Linked DNA regions of Homo sapiens: regions 1, 3, 4 and 5 are each linked to region 2. Evidence: promoter capture Hi-C in 16 types of primary human blood cells and fetal thymus (Javierre and others, 2016). All regions are on one chromosome and are shown on one strand. The core of a region is centred on a gene start or on the middle of the fragment in contact, and the rest is flanking DNA. Distances in the headings are between cores, read along the strand shown. Region 1 holds the start of CRK (CRK proto-oncogene, adaptor protein). Region 2 holds the start of SMYD4 (SET and MYND domain containing 4). Region 3 overlaps SRR (serine racemase). Region 4 overlaps TSR1 (TSR1 ribosome maturation factor). Region 5 overlaps SMG6 (SMG6 nonsense mediated mRNA decay factor).

Region 1 (2,700 bases), core at 118-2,617, 370 kb after region 2:
CTCTGCTCCCTTTGCTTTGAATGTCCTTCCCCGCCGAGTGCGGTGGCTCACGCCTGTAATCCCAGCACTTTGGGAGGCCGAGGTGGGCGGATCTCAAGGTCAGGAGATCGAGACCAGCCTGGCTAACACGGTGAAACCCCATCTCTACTAAAAATACAAAAAGTTAGCCGGGCGTGGTGGCGGGTGCCTGCAGTCCCAGCAACTCGGGAGGCTGAGGCAGGAGAATGGCGTGAACCCGGGAGGCGGAGCTTGCAGTGAGCCGAGATCACGCCCAGGCACTCCAGCCTGGGCGACAGAGCGAGACTCCATCTCAAAAAAAAAAAAAAAAAAAAAAGAAAGAATGTCCTTCCCCATTTGTCATTCAGCAGTCAACACATGCTGCCTCCTCTGGGAAGCCCTCCTGGATTACTCCATAGACTGGCTGTGGGGGCTCTGCTCTGTGTTCATGTCCGTTTCCCATGATAGCGTTTGTCAGCATTTGTCATCCTTTTGTCATCCAGTTTCCTGGTTCCTCTCACTGGTCTGTGAGTTCGAGGAGTGCAGGGCCCAGCCATGATAACCTTTGCACCCGCAGTGCAAGTGGAGTGTCAACAACAATGTCCTAGGTGAATCAATGAAAATGAGAACGTCAGCTGGTCTGTGGAGAAGCTAGAGGAACGAGCAGAAACGGACCGACGTGGCCGGGCGCGATGTTTCTCGCCTGTAATCCCAGCACTTTGGGAGGCCGAGGCGGGCGGATCACCTGAGGTCAGGAGATTGAGACCATCCTGGCCGACATGGTGAAACCCCCGTCTCTACTAAAAATACAAAAAACAGCCGGGCGCGGTGGCTCACGCCTGTAGTCTCAGCTACTCGGGAGGCTGACGCAGGAGAATCGCTTGAACCCGGGAGCAGTGAGCCGAGATCGCGCCATTGCACTCCAGCGTGGGCGACAGAACAAGACTCCGTCTCAAAAAGAAAAAGAAAAAAGAAACAGACTGATATCGCAGGAAGCCTGGCCGAGAACTCAGGCCCCAGGGCCACACGCATCTTTTCTCCTCCAATTCTGTCTGGGAGTCGCTGCCTAGAAGTCCCAGGTCGTCCAGGAACCGGGGCCCAGACGAGAAGCACCGCTCTGTCCGCAGCGCAGGCGCGCGTCTCTGCGGGAGGCTGCGAGGCCCCGCCCCTCGGGCCCTAGACCCCGCCTCCCATCCCCCGCAGCCCGGGCCCGGGAAGGGCGGCACCGCCCATGAATCCGCATGCGCAGTGCGCGCGCGAGGGCGCCTTGCCCTTCTCCCAATGGCGGGCCGCGGGCCCCTTCCCGGCAGCCTCCCTCGGGCAGGGAGCGCGTCATTTCCGGAGGGGGAGGCCCGCGGCTGCCGCCGCCATTTCGGGCGCTGCTGTGAAGCTGAAACCGGAGCCGGTCCGCTGGGCGGCGGGCGCCGGGGGCCGGAGGGGCGCGCGCGGCGGCGGCACCCCAGCGTTTAGGCGCGGAGGCAGCCATGGCGGGCAACTTCGACTCGGAGGAGCGGAGTAGCTGGTACTGGGGGAGGTTGAGTCGGCAGGAGGCGGTGGCGCTGCTGCAGGGCCAGCGGCACGGGGTGTTCCTGGTGCGGGACTCGAGCACCAGCCCCGGGGACTATGTGCTCAGCGTCTCAGAGAACTCGCGCGTCTCCCACTACATCATCAACAGCAGCGGCCCGCGCCCGCCGGTGCCACCGTCGCCCGCCCAGCCTCCGCCCGGTGAGGGACTGACGGGACGGCGGGCCCTGGGCGGGGTGAGGGCCGCGGAACTCCCAGCCTGGCTGGCTGGTCCTCGAGAGCGGACCCTCGGGGGTCGTGGGCAGAGGGCTGGGTGACCGTGGCAGGGGCCCGCCGGCTGCTCGGGCTCGCTCTCACCCGGGGAGCAGGAGTGTGGGGGAGGAGGAGCCGCGGACCGAGGCCCCGGGGTGTGCCTGGGGAGGGCAGCCGCGGGGAAGGGGAACTGCTTCGGCCCCAGGGTGGGGCTGGCTCCCGGGCCAGGCGCAAGGGTAGGGCAGGGCAAGGCAACGTGGGGACAAAGAGCTGAGGGAGATGTTGGCACTGCGGGGGCATCACTTGGCAGCGGCGCCCAGAATGAATCCGATAATCCTACAAGTGGCTTTTAGGCTGGAAACGTTTCCTGCCGTGTTGGAGAGCCGGGTTTGGCCGTGCTCCCCTGGTGGCCTTTGGTAGGAAGTCACCACATACTGGCCGGGAGGGATGGAGACACCCTCAGGAAACCGGTCAATTTTTTCCTTTCTTGGGCATTTTTCCAAAATCTTTGTACCGTTCTCTTCCCCCGTGGAGGACGAAGGTGGTGAACTAAGTGCTAGAAGAAATAGTGGTAGCAGAAAGCCTTCAGTGACCAGCCCAACCCAGTTTAAGGCGATGCCTGGCTATGTGCAAGAGATCTAAGCGTCCAGAAGACTGTCCGCCGTTAGAGAGTTCTGGTTTTCAAAGTGTTTAGTGGAGGAAAGACATTTTATTCCACAAAATAAACCAGAAGTGAGGCAATGGAAACAGACCCTTCCCTGTAAGTGACTGGAACTTCATTTTCCTTGGACTTAAACATTGTCGGTGTGTACTTCAGGGCGTCACCTTGCTCAGTAAGATGGGGCTGCGGGCTGAGTCTTCCTGGATATTGGGAACAGACTCTACGCCAAGAACATAAATTACCTGCGCTGGGTTTTCCTTGCCAGG
Region 2 (2,700 bases), core at 157-2,656:
TTTCTGGTTAGCACTGAACTGAATAGATAATGGTGCCATCCGTGGAGATAGGGATCAAGAGGCCCAGACTTAGAAAGATAAAGAATTTGCTTTGGGATACGTATACTGAACTTAAAACCCTCTGAAGCATGGAATAAGCAGACAGATGACGGAAGTTTGTCTTTTAGAGTAAAGGTGGCTCTGTACAAAGAAATTTGTGAGCAACTGACATATATTAATAGATGGCAATGGAATTGCCTTGGGGCCAGGCGCGGTGGTTCATGCCTGTAATTCCAGCATTTTGGGAGGCCGAGGCGGGCGGATAACTTGAGGTCTGGTGTTCGAGATCAGCCTGGCCAACATGATGAAACCCAGTCTCTAATAAAAACACAAAAAGTAGCCGAGTGTGGTGGCGCACACATGTAGTCCCAGCTACTCGGGAGGCTGAGACAGGAGACTCACTTGCACCCGGGAGACGGAGGTTGCAGTGAGCCGAGATCGCGCCTCTGCACTCCAGCCTGGGCGACAGTGAGTGTCGCCCAGGCTGGAGAAAAAAAAAGAAATTGCCTCGGGAGTCAAGAGGGCCTAGAGGGAGCCTTGATTCAACAAAAATTTACAAAGAGGGACTTACAAATAAGACGGGGATAGACCTGCCAAGCTGAGCCACTAAAAACCAAGGAAGAGGGTGTGACCTGAAGCAAGCAGGGCTTAAACGCAAACGCTGCTGAGAACTCAGGTAAGCTGAAAACGGAAAAGGGCTGGATTTAGCAACTTGGAGGCCACTGGTACCTTCAGCCAGGGTTTTCTACAGCGATCAAAGGGATGACTGGAGTGGGTTAAAGAGTTGATGAAAGGCGAGGAAAGGAAGTGGCTGAAACCAGACAAGAAGTTTGGCTGTGGGTGGGGAAAGGAGAAGAGACAGAAAGTGTCCGCAGGTGGAAGATGCAGAGAAAGGCAAGCGTTTATTTAGTTTGTTCTTACGTAGGAAAAATGTGAGCATGTTTTAAAGACGATCGAAAGAATGCTTTGAGGAGGGGGCGATGACACTAGAGGGACGCCCGGCGGGTCCCCACCGCCCCCCGCCATCTCCTCCCCTCGCGTTCATCCCCCGTCGCCCCGGGCTCCCCTCCCCCTCTCTACTCCGCGAGGCTCGGGGCCGCAGCCACCCCGGACCGCCGGCCCAGCCCCCGGCACCTCCTCACCGCAATGGCCCCCTCGCTCAGTTGGCCGACCATGGCTCCACCGCCAAGACTTCCCCGCGGACCCCGCAACAGCTCCAGCTTCCCCACCCGGGTCCCGCGCGCTGCGCAGTTATTGGCCCGAGAAGTTGCGCGCACCGCTCCCGCCCCCGACGTGCGCGCGGCTCAGGGGCGGGCCCGGGCGCTACGCAGCCGCCGCATTGGCCGAGGCGCGGCCCACGTGACCCACCCATGGTCCCAAGCGAGGCCTGGCGCGGGACGCCGGACGCGGTGCGGGGCGGAGCGGGGCGCCAAGGGGCGCGCCAGGAGCTGCGCGGGCGCTGGGAGGGAGACCAGGGCGCAGTTCCGGGCGCGTCTGAGCGGTTCTCGAGGCGTTCTCGCCTCGGTCTCTGGCGAGTGCACGGGTTGGTATCCCAGAGGAGGTTAAAGCTGTTCCTTGAGACCTCCGCTGCTAAATAGAGTCGCAGTAGTGACCCGATTCGTCCAGCAACGCGGGGCTGACTTCCCGCCTCCAAGCCCTGAGCTTGGCACCGTGGCGGTGGGGGGTGGGGGTGGGGGGTCTCCGAAAGGGAATCAGACCCGGCCCCCGTCCTTAGAGAAGAGGACAGTGTGTGGGGGCACTTTATGCCGTCAGTAACCCCACCTCCAGGTAGACGTGGTACAGGCCCCAAGGGTGTTGGAATCACAGCTGGGAAATCAGGGACGCCGTCCCGGAGGAGGTGCCATTTGAGCCGAGTCGAAGAACGTGTGGGAATTTTCCAGGTGGACTCCATAAGCCAGGGTAGGGTTGGTCCGGAAAGCATGAGTAGCCTATGCCAAAACATTGGAGAGTTGAAATAGCCTGGCAAGCCGGGGATAGCAATGAGTTGTTCAGTATGCAAGGGTGCATGCAGAGGAGTAAGTGACACCTGAGAATTAGAAAGTCAGACAAGGGTCAAGTAAGGATGGTTTTGTCCTGGGCTTCCTGGTATGCTTGGAGTAGCGTTGATGAATTTAAGGGCAGAGCACTGACTTCTGTCTCAGTGTTGGAGGCTGGATTGAAAGTGGGGAGTGGTGCCAATGGCATGGACATTAATTATAACACTCTAGGAAGAATGCCAGACGAGATGGTGAGGACTTAATCAGAACGCTGAACTATGTAAGAGAGGGAAATACCTTGTTAAATGAATAGTTGCTGGGGTGGGTGAGAAAGAAAAATCTGGGATGTGTCTCAGAGAAACTAGAGAGGGATCAGGCCGGGCGCGGTGGCTCACGCCTGTAATCCCAGCGCTTTGGGAGGCCAAGGCTGGCGGATCATCTGAGGTCAGGAGTTCGAGACCAGCCTGGCCAACATGGTGAAACCCCGTCTCTACTAAAAATACAAAAATTAGCCGGGCGTAGTTGCGCGCATCTGTAATCCCAGCTACTCGGAGGCTGAGGCAGGAGAATTGCTTGAACCTGGGAGGCGGAGGGTGCAGTGAGCCGAGATGGTGCCACTGCACTCCAGCCTGGGTGACAGAGCAAGACTCTGCCTCACAAAAAA
Region 3 (2,700 bases), core at 201-2,700, 490 kb before region 2:
AGCTATCATCACTCTCACTGAAATTAAGGGCACTTTTCCACTCCTTTCTGAAGATCTACCCAGTACCTTGAGAAATCAAGTACCTTCCAATTTGGCAGCATAGGTGAGAGCCTGGCCATGGTTTCCACTGCTGTGAGTAACAACAGCTTTCGGCTTCCTTTCTAAAGCATCAGGAACCAAGCTTCTGACGGCATTGAGAGCACCACGAATCTGAAAAAGAGGGATGGTGAATTCACATATTTGATTAAAACATTGTTTTGGAAAGCAAGGAGCTTTTCTAGATTTTCTATCCTTAACATGCACATCCAATCTGTCACCAAATCTTATCGATTTACCTCTTAAATATCTCATGTGCATCTTTATTTTTTATTTTTTTGAGATGGAGTCTCCGTTATCCCGGCTGGAGTGCAGTGCCACGATCTCGGCTTACTGCAACGTCCGCCTCCCCACACTGCGTCTACCCCCAGGGCCGGGTTCAAGTGATTTTCCTGCCTCAGCCTCCCAAGTAGCTGGGATTATAGGCACCTGCCACCATGCCCGGCTAAATTTTTTTTTTTTATTTTTTTAGACCTAGTCTCGCTCTGTTGTAGCCCGGGCTGCAGTGCAGTGGCGCGATCTCGGCTCACTGCAAGCTCCGCCTCCCGGGTTCACGCCATTCTCCTGCCTCAGCTTCTCGAGTAGCCGGGTCTGCAGGCGCCCGCCACCACGCCCGGCTAATTTTTTTGTATTTTTAGTAGCGACGGGGTTTCCCCGTGTTAGCCAGGATGGTCTCGATCTTTTGACCTCGTTATCCGCCTGCCTCAGCCTCCCAAAGTGCTGGGATTACAGGCGTGAGCCACCGCACCCGGCCTTTTTTTTTTTTTTTTTTTTTTCCCCCGAGATGGAGTCTTCCTCTATCACCCATGGTGGAGTGCAATGGCGTGATCTCAACTCACTGCAACCTCTGCCTTCTGGGTTCAAGCAATTCTCCTGCCTCAGCCTCCCAAGCAGCTGGGATTACAGGTGCCTGGCACCAAGTCCCGCTCATTTTGTATTTTTAGTAGAAAGTGTTTCACCAAGGCTGGGTGCGGTGACTCATGCCAGTAATCCCAGCACTTTGGGAGGCAGAGGCGGGCGGATCACAAGGTCAGATCAAGAACATCCTGGCTAACACGGTGAAACCCTGTCTCTACTAAAAATTCAAAAAAAAAAAAAAAAAAATTAGCTGGGCGTGGTGGCAGGCGCCTGTAGTCCCAGGTAATCGGGTGGCTGAGGCAGGAGAATGGCGTGAACCTGGGAGGTGGAGCTTACAGTGAGCCGAGATCGTGCCACTGCACTCCAGCCTGGGGGACAGAGTGAGACTCCGTCTCAAAACAAAACAAAACAAAACAAAAAAGCGTTTCATCATGTTGGTCAGGCTGGTGTCGAACTCCTGACCTCAGGTGATCCACCTGCCTCAGCCTCCCAAAGTGCTGGGATTACAAGTGTGAACCACTGCGCCTGTCATATATTTGTATTTTTTGTAGACAGAGTTTTGCCGTGTGGCCCAGGCTTAGATCTTTTATATTGATAATGTATCCATGTGTAGCAAGTTGATACAGTGAATGCTTAAACTTGGGTCATATACAGAGTGATAACACTTTCCAATTTGCCTGCAACAGTTCAGGTGTCTGTTTAGATATTTCAGGTTGCTTCTTTCAGTCCCAAACATGTCCTAGTTTGGATAATAAATTATGTCTTAGTTTGGACAGTAAGTGATGGTATATATAATAAAGTCATGCTTTGCTTAAGGATGGGGATATGTTTCGAGAAATGCATGATTTGGCAATTTCATCATCTTGCATGCACCATAGAGTGTACTTATACAAATCCAGCTGTTACAGCCTATTACTCCTAGGCTGCAAACCCTGTATAGCATGTTACTGTACTGAATACTGTAGGCAGCTATAACACAATGAGAAGTATTTCTGTATCTAAACACAGAAATCGTACAGTAAATGTGTGGTATAACCTTATGGGACCAAGGACCACCATCATATAGGTGGTCTGTCATTGACTGAAACGTTATGTGGCATATGACTGTATTTTATGTATATATTATATATATGCACATACATATATATAAAAATTACTCGGATAAGTTATATATATTATCCTAATTATAAGGATTTATGACTGTGTAAAAGTTGCTTATCAACACTATGATGCTAGGTAAAACAAGGACTTGAAAGGAAAATTTCTGTAACCTTTTTTCCAGCTGTATAAAGGCATTAATTTACTTCTGCCTATCTCATTGGGTGGTCAGGAGAATCAAACTGATATGTGAAAGGGTGTGAAAACATACATGATACACTGAGAAAAAGGATTGTTACCTTAAAAGATCCTGTTTTCTGGAAGAGTTCACATTTGAAGAAAAGATTGCGCCCTGTTAGTTGATTCAAAATGGAGCTTGTTAGCACTGGTGTGAGGTGGATAGAATCTCGAATGTTGATATGAGCTTTTTCAACATCAGCAAAGGAGATGCAATACTGAGCACACATGGTTCTGAAACCCAGGAATAAGAAAGGGGTCAAAGCAAAGTCTGAGACAGTATGTTTATTGAAGAGATTTTGAAAATACGTAACAGAATAGACCTGGGGCCTGTGGTGTCATGTGGAAATTCTCCATTATTGGAGTGTCAGAATTTCCCTAAAAGAGAGTTGACTTAAAAGCTGAACGAAG
Region 4 (2,700 bases), core at 79-2,578, 500 kb before region 2:
AAGATAAGAGACAGAATGAACCTAGGCACAGTGGTGGATCAAAGGGTTTATGTGAACCTTGAAGAAATCAGCTTGATGGGAGTGAGGTACGTAATAAATGGATAGGAGTGGGAGCAGATTAAGAAAGACCTCAAGAGCCAAGCAGAGACTTAAAATACCCTGGAAATTAGAAAACAGCCATTGGAAAAGTTTTGACAAGTTTTAGCATTCTGTCGCACTCATCTTATACATGAGGACTGATATTTCTGGGTCTTTCTGGTTACTGTGTTAGATTTAGGAGATTTTTGGTTCATGGTTGACTATCACCTGCTTTTGGTTTTCAGATTTGTGCTACGGATGCTGTAGATGATATGGAAGAAGGTCTTAAAGTCCTAATGAAGGCAGACCCTGGTAGACAGGAATCCTTGCAAGCAGAGGTTATCCCAGATCCAATGGAGGGAGAGCAAACCTGGCCCACTGAGGAGGAGCTGAGCGAGGCAAAGGGTCAGTATTGGTAAACTTGTCTGTAATTCATCTGACCTGGAATTGTGGATTTTCTGTAGCTGTTCCAAGTGAGGGCCCTATAGGATAGAGTGGGGTGGGGGTATAGTTGAAAGTCTCTCCTCACCCTCAAATGCTGTATGTTTTCAATAAACAAACATTATACACAGTCTTGTTCCATTTCTCAAAATTACTTGTGTTAATGTTTTATCATGAACAGATAAACAACTTTGGATTCATTGCAGGGCTTATTTAGCTGTGTAAGTATTGCTAGTTGTGAGGCAGCTGAATTAAATTTGGAAGTAGTTCTATTTACAGTGTCTGCCAGAATTTCCCATGTTGGCAGCAGTATCTGGTGCCTTGCCTAGGTGAGAATAACCAGAGGGATAGGGAAAAGAAGTCTGTAATTTACTTAATTTGTTTGGGCTTTTACAGATTTCTTGAAGGAAAGTTCTAAGGTGGTAAAGAAGGTCCCCAAAGGAACATCCAGTTACCAAGCTGAATGGATTTTGGATGGTGGCAGCCAAAGTGGTGGGGAAGGAGATGAATATGAATATGATGATATGGAACATGAGGATTTTATGGAGGAGGAATCTCAGGTAAGGAAATGAGGCCTTAGGCCAATTCTGTGTCTAGCTCCAAATGTAAGGCAAAGTGCAGGTGTGATCTTGATGGGTGTGTGTGGTTAGTTTCTTTTTTTTATTTTTTTTATTTTTTTTTTATGAGACGGAGTCTTGCTCTGTTGCTCAGGCTGGAGTGCAGTGGTGCGATCTGGGCTCACTGCAAGCTCTCCCTCCTGGGTTCACGCCATTCTCCTGCCTCAGCCTCCTGAGTAGCTGGGACTACAGGCGCCCACCACCATGCCTGGCTAATTTTTTTGTATTTTTAGTAGAGACGGGGTTTCACTGTGTTAGCCAGGATGGTCTCAATCTCCTGACCTCATGATCCGCCTGCCTTGGCCTCCCAAAGTGCTGGGATTACAGGCGTGAGCCACCGCACCCGGCCGTGTATGGTTAGTTTCTTAGGAATGACTCTGTAGTTGCCAGGAATGAGGCTTTTGTTTTATACTTTAGACTGTATTAGAATTTATGTTGGTTGGGAATAGGGATCTAGTACAATTATTTTACTCTTAGCTTATTGGCCTTTGGGGTAGAGACAGGTGTGGATTTCTTCTGAAAAAACTGTAATCCTATTCTACAGGATGAGAGTAGTGAAGAAGAGGAAGAATATGAAACTATGACTATTGGGGAGTCTGTGCATGATGATCTGTATGATAAGAAAGTAGATGAAGAAGCTGAGGCAAAAATGTTGGAGAAATATAAACAAGAAAGACTGGAAGAGATGTTTCCAGATGAAGTGGACACGCCCCGTGATGTGGCTGCTCGAATTCGGTTAGTCAACAAGTCTATCAACAAATCTAAATTCAGTCAATACGTTTTTAAAAACTTGGCTCAGAGCTGTGTCACTGTGATGCAAAAGAAGAAAAACACATTTTTTCTGCTCCTGAAGAGCTAACATTTAATATGGGAAGGCAGGACATACATACGGGAAATGGTCATATGTAATTAAGTTCTAGACTGTGGTGCAGACTCACGTTACAGGACTTGAATGAAGGGGAAATACTAAGGTTAATTAGCAAATACTTCTTCCCAAAGGAGCCAGTACTCAATTGAAGTATATAATGTTTGGAAATTTTAGGGGGTTTGGGTAGAATAGCAGAAGTAGAAGAGTGAAGAAGTAGATGATTATATCTGTTCTGGAGGTGAGTGACTAAAGCCAGTGAATTAATTTTGGATATTAGGAGGTAAGGCTATGTATTAGGCCATTCTCGCATGGCTATAAAGAAGTACCAGAGACTGCATAATTTATAAAGAAAAGAGATTTAATTGGGTCATGGTCCTGCAGACTGTACAGGAAGCATGGTGTTGGCATCTGCTCAGCTTCTGGGGGTGTCCTCAAGAAACTTACAATCATGGCAGAAGGTGGAGGGGGAGCAAGTCATGTCACACGGCCAGCGCAGTAACGAGAGCAAGGCAGGAGGTGCTACACACTTTAAACAACTAGATCTCATGAGAACTCACTCAACAAGGAGGGTGGTGCTAACCCACTCATGAGAAAACCTCTCCCCTAATGCAGTCACCTCCCACCAGGCTCCACCTCCAACACTGGGGATTGTATTTCAGTATGAGATTGGGGCAGGGAGACACATCTGAACTGTAT
Region 5 (2,700 bases), core at 155-2,654, 430 kb before region 2:
GTCTTGGGCCATGGTACAGATGTCCACATTGGTGCTGTCTGATCACTCAGTTGGAACTGAAGATTCATCACAATGTAGATAGATTTGAGCTTTTGATTTGGCTCAAGCTTAGAAGTGAATCCTTCAAATAGTTCTTTCTCTGCTTTATTTTATGTATTAGCAAAGGTTGACTCACTCTAAAGTCATGCCTTCCATCATTCTGGGAAGCTTTCTGAGCCAAGCCCAGCTTGGCTTAGGAATAAGTTATGCTTTGTGTTGTAATCATTGGCACTAAGTCCTATTCTTGACTTTCACACACACAGTAGGACTGCAGCTCCTGATGCGTATGGGAAAGAGGAATTGTGATAATACTCGCTATGGATTTACATTTTTCTGGGATTTTTTTTCTTGATAAAGATGCTAAAACCTTATTCTTGCTATTGAGATTTTGAGTTTACTTGTGCCACAAATCTCTGAGATGCTAGGTCCTAATTTGTCAAGCAAACTATGTTAACACATTTGACATTCTCTTCTGAGGAATGTCTTTGGCAGGTTTTCCTTTAGACTTCTGGACAGATCTATAAAACTCTATGGCTTTTGAAATACTTGCAAGTGACATATGTCAAAAGGTTGAATAAGGCACTAATAGTGCCCTTCGTGCTCCTAGGAAGCTGTCACTTGTGGTCACTGCAGACCAGGAGTGAGATCTTATGGGTTGCATTCCTAAATTTCTTTTTGTTTGCATGAACAGATTTTTTAATCTCTTTCCTTGTCTTTACATCCGTACACTGGGGATATAGCATACACCATCAACACATCTGCACAGCTTTGTCCACCGAGGGGTAGCAGAAAGTTGTTTATTATAGCACCAGTCATCTGCATGTCTACCACCTCAGAGTTAGAATAATGGTGGGGATTAGGACATATGGGGCAAAGGGTATTTATTGGCTGTGAAACAAAGGCTTTTTGTGGACTAGTAGAAAAAGTTGTGGCAATTTAAAAAATTATTGCAGAGTTAAAAGAAATCTTCCAAAAATATATATACACAGAAAAGTGCACATAACAGAGCCATACAGGTGATAAATTGTGACAATGTAAGCATACTTGTATAACCAGCAGTTTATTTACTTGTATCGCTGTCATTCTTCTCTTCCCTTTTTTTTTTTTTGAGACGGAGTCTCGCTCTGTCACCCAGGCTAGAATGCAGTGGTGCGATCTTGGCTCACTGCAAGCTCCGCCTCCCGGGTTCAAGTGATTCTCCTGCCTCAGCCTCCTGAGTAGCTGGGACTACAGGTGCTCGCCACCACACCTGGCTAATTTTTTTTTTTTTTGTATTTTTAGTAGAGAAAGGGTTTCACTGTGTTAGCCAGGATGGTCTCGATCTCCTGACCTCGTGATCTGCCCTCCTGGGCCTCCCAAAGTGCTGGGATTACAGGCGTGAGCCACCGCGCCCGACTTTTTTTTCTTTTTTCTTAAATATATTTTTGAGATAGAGTCTTGCCCTGTTGCCCAGGCTGGAGTGGAATGGCATGATCTCGTCTCACTGCAACCTCCGCCTCCCGGGTTCAAGTGATTCTTCTGCCTCAGCCTCTCAAGTAGCTGGGATTACAGGCACCCGCCATCACACCCAGCTAATTTTTGTATTTTCAGTAGAGACAGGGTTTTGCCATTTTTGGCCAGGCTGGTCTCAAACTCCTGACCTCAGGTGATCCACCCACCTCGGCCTCCCAAAGTGCTGGGATTACAGGCATGAGCCACTGCGCCCGGCCTCTTCCCTTTTAACTCTAAACTCAAATTTTTTTCTATACGTTTAATGATAGCAGTGACAGAGCATTTTAAATAAATTAGGAAGAAGTTAATGCCCATGTTTTCCTTGCTTTGTGGATCCTTGTTAAGATTGATTTTCATTGTTCAGAGACAGAGGACGAAGAGAGAATTTGGAAGATAAAGAATTGGATCAAAGATAAAAGATTTGAGGTGTTTGCTTTGACTTTTGAACTACAGAGTTTGGGTCTGGGAACCAGCACAGAAAAGATTTGATTGACCAAAAAAACTAGCTGGAAGCAGGCCTTGCCTCCAGTCACAGTGAAACTGAGTCTCTCACCAACAGTGCTGTGGTTTACAGCCTTCATCTTGAAGCATCTGGCTGTGGGGGGGGAAAGTGACATCATGGCCTGCCTTCTCCTGGACATGCTTGGTTCAGCTCAGATGTGGAATCCCAGAAGATCTGCAATGCGTGTTTCTAGCCTTGTTTTTAGTGTCAAGGCGAATGCCAGGCTGTAGCAGGCCATGTTGTTGTCTTTGTGTAATCCATTTGTATTCTAACAGTTTTCTTCTTTTTCTGCTGCTAGCTGCCAGGGAGGTAGAGTTGCCTCTGTTGATAAAGAGCAGATACAGAAGTTCACATCCAAACCTGAATGACCATTTTTAACTTGAAACACTTTTCCTGGGAGTTGATGCGCCAGAATCCTTCCCTTATTTGGTGCCTTGCTTAAATCTGAAGCTCGCACAAGGTAGCCAAAGCTCCCTGTGTGCTGGTTATTTGCTTTATGGCAAATAACCACAGCAGAGTGGTTTGTGAAACCGTCTTTGTGACCACATCTATCTTAAACTGAAGCTTCGTTCTCCTTTGGGTTCTTAGATTAGTTCGTGCTCCTCCCTTTCCTGAGAGATTCAGGGGTTTTCCTGTATGGCGTTAGGTAGGTAGAGAGGTTATATTTT

The links. Contacts are between HindIII fragments. The CHiCAGO score rates a contact against its expected background, and 5 or more counts as called.
Region 1: the fragment with the promoter of CRK here is called in contact with the fragment with the promoter of SMYD4 in region 2 in 1 of 17 cell types (neutrophils); the score reaches 8.1 in neutrophils.
Region 3: a contact is called between a fragment that was not itself captured here and the fragment with the promoter of SMYD4 in region 2, in 2 of 17 cell types (M1 macrophages and M2 macrophages). The highest score is 5.2, in M1 macrophages.
Region 4: a contact is called between a fragment that was not itself captured here and the fragment with the promoter of SMYD4 in region 2, in 1 of 17 cell types (total CD8 T cells). The highest score is 5.4, in total CD8 T cells.
Region 5: a fragment that was not itself captured here is called in contact with the fragment with the promoter of SMYD4 in region 2 in 2 of 17 cell types (M2 macrophages and naive CD4 T cells); the score reaches 7.0 in M2 macrophages.

Annotation. Positions count from the first base shown.
Region 1 is chr17:1,454,899-1,457,598 of GRCh38, reverse strand. CRK (CRK proto-oncogene, adaptor protein) reads left to right here and starts at 1,367. Exons shown (of 3, transcript NM_016823.4): 1 at 1,367-1,722. The coding sequence starts at 1,482. RefSeq lists silencers at 1,059-1,558, 1,649-1,708, 1,819-1,948 and an enhancer at 1,213-2,198. The HindIII fragment of the contact is 20,688 bases long and covers 1-2,700 here.
Region 2 is chr17:1,828,608-1,831,307 of GRCh38, reverse strand. SMYD4 (SET and MYND domain containing 4) reads left to right here and starts at 1,406. Exons shown (of 11, transcript NM_052928.3): 1 at 1,406-1,582. It overlaps RPA1 (replication protein A1), which reads right to left and starts at 1,303. Exons shown (of 17, transcript NM_002945.5): 1 at 1,182-1,303. The coding sequence starts at 1,214. RefSeq lists an enhancer at 1-407 and a silencer at 1,035-1,554. The HindIII fragment of the contact is 18,459 bases long and covers 1-2,700 here.
Region 3 is chr17:2,315,380-2,318,079 of GRCh38, reverse strand. It overlaps SRR (serine racemase), which reads right to left. Exons shown (of 8, transcript NM_021947.3): 2 at 2,352-2,523; 3 at 84-210. The coding sequence starts at 2,519. Among named protein-coding and RNA genes, the nearest start is that of SNORD91B, 12 kb to the left of the region's middle. The HindIII fragment of the contact is 2,533 bases long and covers 184-2,700 here.
Region 4 is chr17:2,331,340-2,334,039 of GRCh38, reverse strand. It overlaps TSR1 (TSR1 ribosome maturation factor), which reads left to right. Exons shown (of 15, transcript NM_018128.5): 6 at 324-483; 7 at 916-1,079; 8 at 1,681-1,871. Among named protein-coding and RNA genes, the nearest start is that of SNORD91A, 2.3 kb to the right of the region's middle. The HindIII fragment of the contact is 2,823 bases long and covers 1-2,700 here.
Region 5 is chr17:2,259,761-2,262,460 of GRCh38, reverse strand. The region is part of intron 8 of SMG6 (SMG6 nonsense mediated mRNA decay factor); the gene reads left to right. Among named protein-coding and RNA genes, the nearest start is that of SMG6, 43 kb to the left of the region's middle. RefSeq lists an enhancer at 2,616-2,700. The HindIII fragment of the contact is 2,389 bases long and covers 210-2,598 here.